Linked DNA regions of Homo sapiens: region 2 is linked to region 1. Evidence: promoter capture Hi-C in 16 types of primary human blood cells and fetal thymus (Javierre and others, 2016). All regions are on one chromosome and are shown on one strand. The core of a region is centred on a gene start or on the middle of the fragment in contact, and the rest is flanking DNA. Distances in the headings are between cores, read along the strand shown. Region 1 holds the start of PIGP (phosphatidylinositol glycan anchor biosynthesis class P). Region 2 overlaps DYRK1A (dual specificity tyrosine phosphorylation regulated kinase 1A).

The links. Contacts are between HindIII fragments. The CHiCAGO score rates a contact against its expected background, and 5 or more counts as called.
Region 2: a fragment that was not itself captured here is called in contact with the fragment with the promoter of PIGP in region 1 in 2 of 17 cell types (total B cells and naive B cells); the score reaches 6.4 in total B cells.

What each region holds. Positions count from the first base shown.
Region 1 is chr21:37,068,957-37,075,102 of GRCh38, reverse strand. PIGP (phosphatidylinositol glycan anchor biosynthesis class P) reads left to right here and starts at 2,032. Exons shown (of 5, transcript NM_153682.3): 1 at 2,032-2,103; 2 at 2,566-2,669; 3 at 5,479-5,551. The coding sequence starts at 2,588. TTC3 (tetratricopeptide repeat domain 3) reads right to left here and starts at 1,849. Exons shown (of 46, transcript NM_001330683.2): 1 at 1,630-1,849. RefSeq lists silencers at 1,442-1,501, 1,722-2,041, 2,282-2,561 and an enhancer at 1,840-2,134. The HindIII fragment of the contact is 9,103 bases long and covers 1-4,856 here.
Region 2 is chr21:37,466,263-37,471,889 of GRCh38, reverse strand. All of the region lies in intron 2 of DYRK1A (dual specificity tyrosine phosphorylation regulated kinase 1A), which reads right to left. Among named protein-coding and RNA genes, the nearest start is that of KCNJ6-AS1, 50 kb to the left of the region's middle. The HindIII fragment of the contact is 1,530 bases long and covers 2,598-4,127 here.

The sequences.
Region 1 (6,146 bases), core at 783-3,282:
ATTGTGTATGGATTCACCTTGATCAAAGTATAAAATATGCAAAGTAAAGATATACACAAACCTCAACGCAGTGGCTATCTCTAGAAAAGGAGGGGAAGGAACTGAGAGCAATTTTATTTCTTTAAAAAAAAAGAGTATCTGAAGTAAATTTGGCAAAAGATTAAATAATCACGTCTGTAAAATCTGAATCATGGATTGGTTAGCTCCCCCTCTGTATTTGATATCTGAAATATTCCAAAAATTAAAAGAAAAAAAGGAAAATTAGACAATAAGAAAATTGGGCAGAACAAAGACACCAAAACGCAGCCCTTGAGCGCAGAGCACGAAACCTTGAGCAATCGGAGCAGTAGCTGGGTCTCTAAGGGGTTTGAAGTTTCTTACCCTAGGTATCCTTATACTATATCCCATTTTCCTTAGGATAAATCGCAAATTTCTTGCAACAAAAAATGTCCTAACTAGAGTCGTAGTTATAAGGAAAAGGCTCTCTCCGGAGGAGTAAAATCTGTAAAATTTCTACCTTGTTTCCCTCGCCAGGATCTTGGGCAAAATGGAAAGAGATTTAGGTGAATGCCATAAAATACTCTATAAACCATTAAATATCATCAAGAACGCCTAAGGACCGCATCGCCCAGTAGGAGAGTGCATATATTTTGAAAGGTCTCTGCAACTGAGGGGGTTTTGGCGTCCAGGGCGCCACTGGAAAAGGCACGGCGCACTGGTACCAGCCCAAATTCACCTACGTCTCGGCTTCATTTTTTATCTTTGATCCCCCTATTCTGTCTCCTGAACAGGCTGGCTGAAGAGGCCACACTGGCAGCGTCAACACTGCGGAGCAGCTGGCCAGACTCGATCCTGTCCACCCCCCTTCCCATTAGCGTCTGTGGGAGAGAATGCTCAGAAAGAGGCGCGGGGGCGAGGGGAGCGGCGAGGTTACCCCCCTCCTGGGTCCGTTCCGTGGGGACAGGCCCTGGACTGGACTGCCAGTTCACACGAAAACAGGTGGCAACAGAGTCGTGACACGCACACACAGCAAGGGGTGTGCACGAACGTTCACGCTCACCAACGAAACCTGCACACAAGAGATACCCACTCGACAGAATTAAATCCGCACACAAGAGATCACGCACTCAACAGGACCCATGCGCAGACACTCTGCGTCACTCGGAGACACGCAAGGACGCACACTTGCGCGAGCAAGGCTCTAGGCGGGGGTCGCAATTGCAGAAGGCGCGGCCACGCGCGCTAGGGGACGCGCAGCCCACAGACAGGGGCAGTAACACAAAGGGGGGCCACCTGCAAGGCCGAGAGCGCCCACGCAGCCGCCAGGGAGCGCGGACACCGACACAAAAGGGGCGACGAGGCGACACGCGAGCGCCTCCACCCAGCGGAGGTGTCAGCCACGCACCGGCCGAGGCACGGGCAGCGGGGGGTTGCGCACAAAGGGACTACTCACACCCTCGCACCGGCATCCCAGGGCCTCGCTCGCGAAGGGGCACCAGACCAAGGGGGCAAACCCACTGGGGTAGGCAATGGCGGCCACACCCCCTCATCGCGCGGGACCCAACCCATGCAGACACAGTAGGCACCTCAGCGAGGGACGCGAGGAGACGCGCACACACCCACACTCACCACACACCCACGGAGGGGGTGTGGAAGGCCCCGCTCCCCCGGCATCTCGGCTGCAGCGGGACAAGGTGACACATCCGGGAGCCCGGCAGCGCGCCGGGTGTGCACTCACCCGGGCCCGCCGCCCGCGAGCCTCGGACGCGGGCAGCAGCAGCAGCAGCCGCCGCCGCCGCCGCCGCCACCTCCGGCCCTCCACGTCAGCCGACGGCGGGAGGGAGCGGGTGGCGGCGTTGAAGCGAGGTGCGTCACGTGGGCTGGCAGCGCGCGTGCGCAGTCGCACCCCACCGCCCCCTCCTTCGCCGTCGCGAGCCGCGGGATCACGCCCGCCCCCGCGCTCGCTGGCTCCCACCCGGGGAGGGTCGTTGTGCGCCTGCGCCAGGGTGGGGGTTGCCGTCGCGCCTAGGCCTTTCCCTCAGGTTTTCCTCTTCCCCACTGCGGCTCCCCAGTCGGCGCTTGCGCGGAGAACTCAGCGCTGAGGTGGCCGAGGTGTCGGGAGGGGCCTGGGTGGGCGTATGAAGGACCCGAGGTCGAGGGCCCCCCCATACCCCGCCTCGAATGAGAAATAGAAGTCTCCACGAATGGGCAGGGCCCGGGGCCTGGGCGCCGCGACCTAGTAGGCCCGCATGCTGGTGGGCGCCGCGCGAGCCTTGTTCCCTGCCCTCCCCTCCCACAGGGAGGCCACGCTTGCAGAGCTGGAGCGCGCGTCTATCGCCCCAGAACCCCCCTCCCTGCCCTATCCTCCGCCACCCCTTCTGTTGCGGGGCGCGCGCCAGCCTGGGTGTCTGTATGCGCTCGAGGCGGGGGCGCGGGTTGCGGACGGAGGCGCGGGAGGCGGTTCTGCGCGGCGGGGGCCGTACCCGCGGCGGAGCGAGGAGGCGAGAATGGATCAATGGTGCCACGGAGCACATCGCTGACGCTGATTGTGTTCCTTTTCCACAGATTGTCTAAAGCCCCAGGAAAAATGGTGGAAAATTCACCGTCGCCATTGCCAGAAAGAGCGATTTATGGCTTTGTTCTTTTCTTAAGCTCCCAATTTGGCTTCAGTAAGTACTTTCCTGATGGATGGCCAGGGGCTTTTTCTGGCGTTCAGTGACAAGGGAAGAATACATTGGTTAGACTGTGCACACATGAACTGTTGATTCTTTCTCCCTATGTCTCTTTTTAAGAAAATCTGAAGGGATCTCGTGTTTGCTGAGTGTTCCGTGTGCCAGCACTAGCCTAGGAGGTTTTAGTCTCTACAAATATTTATACAGCACCAGACGCGATGGCAAAGTGGATAAAGCCTGGTCCCTGCCCTTAAGGAGGTCGTGGTCTTGTGGAGGAGACAGATGGGTAAATCTACAGTTAATGCTCAGTGTGATGAGTGTCAGGGAGCACGGTGGAGAGACATTGAAACCAGACTGGAAAGTCAAGGCTTTCTACAGAGGCCTTTCCCCCTGGCACTGATGCTGATTAGGAAAGAGTAAGAGGGAGGGAAGAAGTGGAAAGGCCTTGAATGAGGGCGTGAGAGGGTTTGGACCCGAGGAGCTTGTGATGTCACCAGTGTGCCCTGCGGGATCTGGGGAACAGGAGAAGTAGGCCAGAGAAGTCGGGTTGAAAGGTGTGTCGTTTGCGTCCTGGATCTCCCTTAATTTAACCCCATAACATTCCATTTTACAGATAAGGAGACTGATGCTCACTAAGACACTAATATGCCCACTCACACAGCAAGTCCCAAGTCTCTCCCCAAAATGATTTGAGAATTTTGAGGCACACAAAAGGGAGAAAATTGAGTGCCCGTGATCCAACGTTCTGCAACTGTTTGGAAACCAGGAAAGTGGAGGAGTGGTAGTACTTCTGAACCCTAACTAAAATATATCAGCCTGCACCATCAGCACAGCTTGCAGATGAATGTAATGGCCAGGCTATTAAAACTGAAGTGAAGTGAAGAAGTTACAACTGAGTTCGAATTCTGACTCCTCCACAGATTAGCCATGTGAGCTGGGACCCTCAGCAAATTTTTTGAGCCTCAGGTTCCTTATCTGTAAAAGGGTAGTGATAATGATGGTTATTAAATGCTTATGACGCATGAAACAGTTCTATGGGGTAGGTTCTGTTATTACTGTCCTTTAAAGATGAGCATCCTGTGGTTTCAGTAACTTGCTCAAGATTGCAAAGCTACTAAATAAAAGCCTTCTAAATTTGAACCCAAATACACTGGCTGACTTCACTCTGCTGCCTCTTCTGACTGTTGTGAGGATTAACGGGGGTAATTTATGTAAAGCACGTAAAATAATGCCTAGGAACAGTTAGGGACTTAATAAGTGTTAGCTACTGATGTTATTGTTAGCACTTTTGTAAATCCTTGTTCAAAGAGTATGTCAAGGATTAGAAGCTATATGAATAAATAAAAGCAATCACTTTAAGGCTTAAATTCTGGCCGGCCTGGTGGCTCACGCCTGTAATCCCGGCACTTTGGGTGGCCGAGGCAGGCAGATCATCTGAGGTCGGGAGTTTGAGACCAGCCAGACCAACATGGAAAAACCCTGTCTCTACTAAAAATACAAAATTAGCCGGGATGGTGGCGCATGCCTGTAACTCCAGCTACTCGGGAGGCTGAGGCAGGAGAATCGCTTGAACCCGGGAGGCGGAGGTTGCCGTGAGCTGAGATTGCACTTTTGCACTCCAGCCTGGGCAACGAGCGAAACTGTCTCAAAACAAAATTAAATTCCATCATACCCACAACCAAAAAGTAATTCAAGTATTTATTGGTGCTTACCATGTGCCAGGCACTGTTACAGGCCAGGAAGGACCAAAACAGCCAAAAATGCCCTGCTTTGAGTCTTCATTCTCATGCCGGGGGGAGATAGTCAATGGGCAAGTTAAATAAGAAAAACGTATATAGTATCAGGTGATAACGTACTATGGGGAGAAATTAAGCAAAGGGAAGGAGGATACGAAGTGGAAGGAGGGCCTTCTAATGTGCTTCTATGTCATCTTTTATTACTCATTCGTGAGCACTTGTAACAATGTAGTGAAAATACCAATTTTCTCTATTCACCACTAGATTTTAAGTTTAGGGAGGGCAGAAGCCATCTCTTTTGGATTCAATATTGTGTCTCACACACCTGACATACAGAATTCTGTAATACATATTTGTTAAGAAAAGAATGCATCATCACTGATGTAGTAGGTAGTTAAAATTTATCTTTGCCGCTTACCTTGGGTAGGTGATGTATCCTTTCTAAGCTTCCATTTCCTCATCATTTAAAATTGCATACTTGCCTTGGAGGATTGTCTTGGAGGATTATCTTAATGCATACAGAATGCTTGGAACTGTGCTTAACCCACAGTGAGTGCTCAGAACTTAGCCATTGTTGTTATCGTGGGATAACAGTAAAGAGTGCCGAGATTTCGGATTGAGGGAAATAACATTGTACTCTGGGAGATAGGGCAGAAGCTCAGTATGTGGTGGATGAGAACTAGGGTAGGTAAATTTCCCTTTGAGCAATTAAATGTCTATAATTACTTCAACCTTGTGGGGATGAAGTATTGAACACTTACTGTACCTAAAGCAAACTGCTAGGTAATAAGGATTACAACAATTGCTAAGCCATGATTTGTATCCTTGAATTGCTTAAAATATAATGTGAGTTAAGATATTAAAAAAAAAGACTAATACAGTAATTATAAGTATTATAAGAATTGTGCAAACGAGCTAGAAGAACTGAAAGGAGGAAAAAATCATTTCTGAGTTAATCAGGGACACTTCAAAAGAGCTTTTCTGTTTTATCTGAATCTTAATAGATTGATAGATTAGATGTATGTCTTACTGACTTCTCTTCCTCTTTTTTTTCTTTTTCTTTTCTACAGTACTTTACCTCGTGTGGGCCTTTATTCCTGAATCTTGGCTAAACTCTTTAGGTTTAACCTATTGGCCTCAAAAGTAAGTTTAATATATTTCTTAAATGAGGATATAATTAATGCTGTTTTGAGGAGTCATATCATTTCTTAAACCTACCCAAATCTTAAATATTTGTTCTCTTAAAATTCATGAATAGCCATATAGAAATTGAAAGCTTTTTAAAGATCGCTATTGATACATCTCTAATTAAAGATGGTAGCATGAACACACATGTTTATCTCCATCCATTTCCTCCAAAAATCTTGTTAAAATGACCCTACAGGAAAAAAAAAAAAAACTGAAGATACAAACCACAGAAACAATAGTATAGCAGAAAAGAGATATCAACCACATTTTGGAAAGTGGATTGTGATAGGTGAGAGGTAACTGCCTTTGTTTCTGTGATTTTCACGTTGCTGAAGTAGGGAAGCCAGCAAGAATATTTGTGCCTTAGAACTCCAGAATAGCTCAGACATTGGGGTACCAGGTAGCTCTTTAATTCTGGGTTGAACTGAAAACATGTTTAAAGACCATATGAAGTCTTCAGCCTTCAAATCTCCCTCAGCCCTCAAAGCTGGGAGGCCTGCCCTGCCCTCCCCTGCAGAAAACAGGAGTTTTACTCTCTGGCAAGGTTAAG
Region 2 (5,627 bases), core at 2,113-4,612, 400 kb before region 1:
TTGTAATCACAGACTAAAGCCTAAAACCTTGGTCAACAAGAATGACTAGATTCAAAATACTTGTGCCTGTCCTCCTGAATGAACCAGCTAACAGCCACAACACAACCGACCATAACGCTCAGTAGCAAAATACTTCCGACTTCTACCATTTTCAAGACACACAATAATGGTGGTCCAACAGTGAAGGGCACAGACTCTCAGCCAGGTTGCTGGGGTTGGAGATCCCAGCACTACCGGTGACCAGCTGTATGGCCATGCATACCTAATATCCTGATAATGATAATAATACCTACCTGAAAAGGTTGTTATGAAGGTTTAGTGCTTTAGTACATACAACATACTCAGAACAGCTCTGGCAATTAATAAATGGCCCAATGTTATCTGCAAGTACTGTAGAGTAATGCACAGTCAATGTGCAGTAAAGGCTCATGGGGCCAGTGCCCACCTTGTGGAGCATACCATCTCTACCTGAATGTGGCACACACTCTGCAAAACAAAGAGAACAAAGCTCCCCAAACATAAGTTCCACCTCTACTTTCCACCACAGGGAATGACACCATTTCCTACGCAGTCAACGAGACTCAACACTCTGGCAGTCATGTTAGAGTTCTTCCCTTACAGCTGCCCAATCTTGCTCATTCCCTCTCCTAACAGAATACTCAAACACAACCTTTTCATCTACATCACCACATATAACACTTAAGATTACCAAAACAGATTCCTAATAGCTGTCTTTATTCTATTTTCAATTCTGGATCTACTCAATAACATGGCTAAAGTGACCTTTCTAAAATACAAATCTCAAGTCCTCTACCCCTGCTGAAGCTGGAATGTCAACTGCCCCTAGCATTGCTTTCAGACTTTAGATTCTCTTCTGTCTCTCCCCATTACAGTGAGGTCCTTAACTTTCCCAATCTACATGATTAATAATGTTTATTAAATAAGTAAAAGGATAGTACAACTGTGGTGAAAGATGGCCAACTTTTCTAAACATTTCATCATTCATAGTCAAAAATACTTTCATTCAATTCAATTCTGTAAAACAACCTTGTTCACTTTTTAAAAGAACTTCTACAAACTTACACTAAGGCAATAATCAATGATGTGCACAAAGATGCCAAGCATGTTTATCCTGGTGTTGTTTGTAAAAGCAAAACATTGAAAATCTAAATTCAAATACTGGGGGTGATGAGGGCTTTTAAATCTGAACATTAAAAAGAAAAAGGTAGGAAGGAATATAAATAAAAAGAATTGAGGTCCTTAATATATAAAAAGTTCTTATAAACAGTAAAAGACTAAGGCTGTGACTGGCAAATTTCTTAACCATTCAAAGCCTTAGATTCCCTATCTATGAAGCAGAGGTATTACTATACTGACCCTATTCCTTGTTACAAAGTTTAAATGAGATACCACCAACAGGCACACAGAATGAAACCTGTGACACACACCAAACACTTTTTATAAAAATGTTAGCTTCTGTTTTTATTATCTATGTCACTGTTATATACTATGTTTAAACTTATTCAATGCAATATTGTAGAAAAGAGGATAAAAATCATTAGCACAAAGCTTAAATTACTATCATAAAATCAATCTGTGTCACGAAACGGGGAAAAAATGGCCAGCATCCCAGAAACCCACCACACCACTCTATGACCCTTTCTAACCAACACCTCCTTCCTCTTCCTCAAAAGTTACTACTATCCTGACCTCCAAAACCCGATTTGTTTTTATTTATTTATTTTTGAGACAGAGTCTCGCTCTGTCACCCAGGCTGGAGTGCAGTGGCACAATCTCGGCTCACTGCAAGCTCCGCCTCCCAGGTTCACGCCATTCTCCTGCCTCAGCCTCCCGAGGAGCTGGGACTACAGGTGCCCACCACCACGCTGGCTAATTTTTTGTATTTTTAGTAGAGACAGGGTTTCACCATGTTAGCCAGGATGGTCTCGATCTCCTGACCTCGTGATCCACCCGCCTCAGCCTCCCAAAGTGCTGGGATTACAGGCGTGATGTTTTCATATAAGCAGGTGATACAGTTTGGATCTGTGTCCCTGCCTAATTCTCATGTCGAACTGTAATCCCCAATATTGGAGGAGGGCCCCGGTAGGAGGTTATTGGATTAGGAGGGTGGTTTCTAATGGTTTAGCACCATCCCCCCTAGTGCTATCCTCGTGATAAGAGTTCTCACGAAAAAAGGCTGTTTAAAACTGTGTGGCACCTCCCCCTTTTGCCTGACTTTGCAGGCCATGTAAGACATGCCTGCTTCTCCAACGCCTTCTGCCATGATTGAAAGTCTTCCTGAAGCCTCCCCAGAGGCTTTCATGCTTCCTGTACAGCCTGAAGAAAGAACCATGAGCCAACTAAACCTCCTTTCTTTATAAATTGCCCAGTCTCAGGTATTTATTTATAGCAGGGCAAGTACAAACTAATGTAATAGAGTAGAATTGTTTACTTCATCTTATGCCTATAAACTGCAGTTTGTCCATTACCTTGCTTTACAACAATATGGACAAATGATAATTTATCCATTCTACTACTGACCGACACCTGGATTATTTCCAGTTTGGGGCTACTATGAACACTGCCACTTGTAAGCTTCTTGTTATGCATCGTTTGGTATACACAGAGATGCTGTCCTGTTGTTTTTCTGGTCTTTTTTTGTTCCAATCAATTTATCCACTAGCAGTTTATGAAAAATTCTCACGCTCCACTCCTTCACTATGGCATGCAATCATCAGTCTAATTTCAGCCATTATGCTAAGTGTATTTGTGCTGTGGTACTCCAATGTGGTTTTTAATTTGCATTTTCCTAGTTACTCTGAGCATTTTTGCATGTCTATTGGCCACTTATACATCACATCGTGAAATGTACATTCAGGTTGCTTTTCTATTTTTTCTACTGAATTGTAAGCCCATTTCTTACAAATTTCTAGGATTTTTAAAAATCCATATTCTGAATATGATCGAGCCCCTATTGGTTACAGGCAGCTTGCCTTGTCACCCTCTTAATGGTATACTTTGATGAATAAAAGTTCTTAATTTTATCAACTTTTGCTTTACAATTAGTACTATACTTTTGGAATCTAAGAAATTTTTCCTTATATCAAAGTCATGAAAAAAATCTATTACCTTCTAAACACTGGGCTTTCTCTCTCACATCTAAATGCAAAATCCATTTGCATTTGACTTCTGTGTAAAATAGGAATCAAGTTTCATTTCCCCCTCCAAATTAACATCCAATTGATCCTTAACCAATTATTTAAAAGACAAACATTCTCCACTGCTCTGTAACCCCATCCTTATCATAAATCACATTTCCCTTTATGCTTGGATCTAGTTTTGGACTGCCTATTCTGTTCTACTGGATACAGACTTACCTACCTAGGTCTCTGTTCAAGAACTGGACACTACCTAAATTACAATAGCTTTAAAAATTTTAAGATCCAACAGGAAATTCTGTTCTTCTTCAAGAATGTTTTGGCAGGCCAGGCGCAGGGGCTCATGCCTGTAATTGCAGGGCTTTGGGAGGCCAAGGCGGGAATCACTTGAGCCCGAGAGTCTGAGACCAGCCTGGGAAACACACCACCACCTCATCTCTGTAAGAAAAAAAAAAAGCCAGGCATGGTGACGCACACCTGTAGTTCCAATTACTCAGGAGGCTCGGGTGGGAGGACTGCCTGAGCCCAAGATTTCAAGGCTGCAGTGAGTTATGATTGTGCCACTGTATGTGCTCCAGCCTGGGTAACAGAGACCTTACCTCTAAAAGAAAAAAAAAGTAAGTAAGTTTGGCTATTCCATGTAAGTTCCTGATTCACCTCATCAAATCCACCAAAACAAATCCATGTTGGGATGTTGAAATTGAAATTGCATTGATCTCTATAGAATGGTGGTGCCCAACAGAATTTTCCGCAATGATGGATTTACCTGTATCAGTAATGTAGCAAATAGCCACATGTGGCTAGTGAGCATCTGAACAATTTTATTTTTCTTTTCCAATCCTTATTCTTTCCCTTGCCTTATTCTACTTGCTGGGACCTTTAGTACAGTGATGATTTAAAAAGGAGGTAACAGACACTACTCTCACATATTCTCAATCTTGGAAATACAGCTTTCTTAGAAAGAAAGCTTTCAACATTTCTCCAGTATTATGGTTGCTGCAGGTTTTTAACAGATACTATTCCCAGATTAACAAAGTTTCCTTCTACTGCTAGTTTTCTAAGACCTTTTCCTCATGAATAGATGCTGACTTTTATTAAATGCTCTTTCTGTATCTACTGAAATGAGATGACCTTTCTGATTTACTCTGTTGATGTGGTGAATGACGCTGATTGATTTTTGAAATGATAAACGACTTTCCTTGAGCCAAGCATGGTGGTTCCCACCAGTAATCCCAGCAATCTGGAGGCCAAGGTGGGAAAATCACTTGAGCCCAGGAGTTTGAGACCAGCCTAGACAACATAGTGAGACCCCATCTCTACAAAAAAATTAAAACATTAGTAGGGTGTGGTGGCACATGCCTATGGTCCCAGTTACTCAGGAGGCTGAGGTTAGAGGATCACCTGGGCCCAGGAGGAGGAGGGTGCAGTGAGCCATGATTGCACCACTTGCACTCTAGCCCAGGGCAAGATCCTGTGAAAACAAACAAAAAAAGATTTTCCATTTCTGGAATGCGATTTGGTCATGATTTTATGCGTGTGTGGTAGATTCACTGGTGAAACCTTCTGGACCAGGAGTTTTGCTTGTGGATAGTTTCCGTTTTTTTGTTTTGTTTTTTTTTTTTTTTCTTTTGTAAATCCCAAAGACTTCAAAACTAGTGGGTAGCTCTTTCCACTAAGGATCATGTTTAATAGGACTATTCAGATTTTCTATTTTCTGCTGTGTCTGTTAAGTTGTAGTTTTCTAATAGTATAACTTCATCTAAATTTCAAATGGACTGACATCAAGTTTTTATAATATCTTCTCATAAGCTTTTGTGATATCCTCTTCACCTCAACATTGGTTAATGAGGTCTTCTCTTTCTTCATGGTCCGCCTCATCAAAGGTTTAATTTTATTAAGTATGCTGTCTTATATAGGTATTTTTTTTTAAATTTTGGTCTCATCTTGTTCTATCAGTTACCAACAACAATGTATTAAAAATCTCCTACTTAAAGTGTTATACTGGATAATACAAATTCAGGGTTGTTATGCCTTCCTGATGAATAATACCTTTTATCATCATAAACTGCCCTCTTTATTTCTAGTAAAGCTTTTTGCTTTATCTGTTATCAGTCTGACTACACCAAGCCTTCTCTGCATCAATTTTTGTATGGTATGTCTTTTGTCCATCTTTTTACCTTTACCTTCTTCTGTTTCCTTGTATTTTAGGTTTATCTCTTGTAAAGAGTATGTGGTTGAGCTGTATCTATAAATGAACACTAACAATCTATTTGTTCCAACTGTTTTATGTTCCTTTTCCTTTCTTATCTTTTGCTGGAATTTTTTATATCATCTCCCCATATTTTTATTTTTTAGTTACCTTATATATTACAATATTACAAAAGATTATGCATCCTTGACTAATCAAAATCTAATTACTCCCTAAACTCATCCACTATGTTGATTTCTGTTTTAATTCTGTTGCTCTCT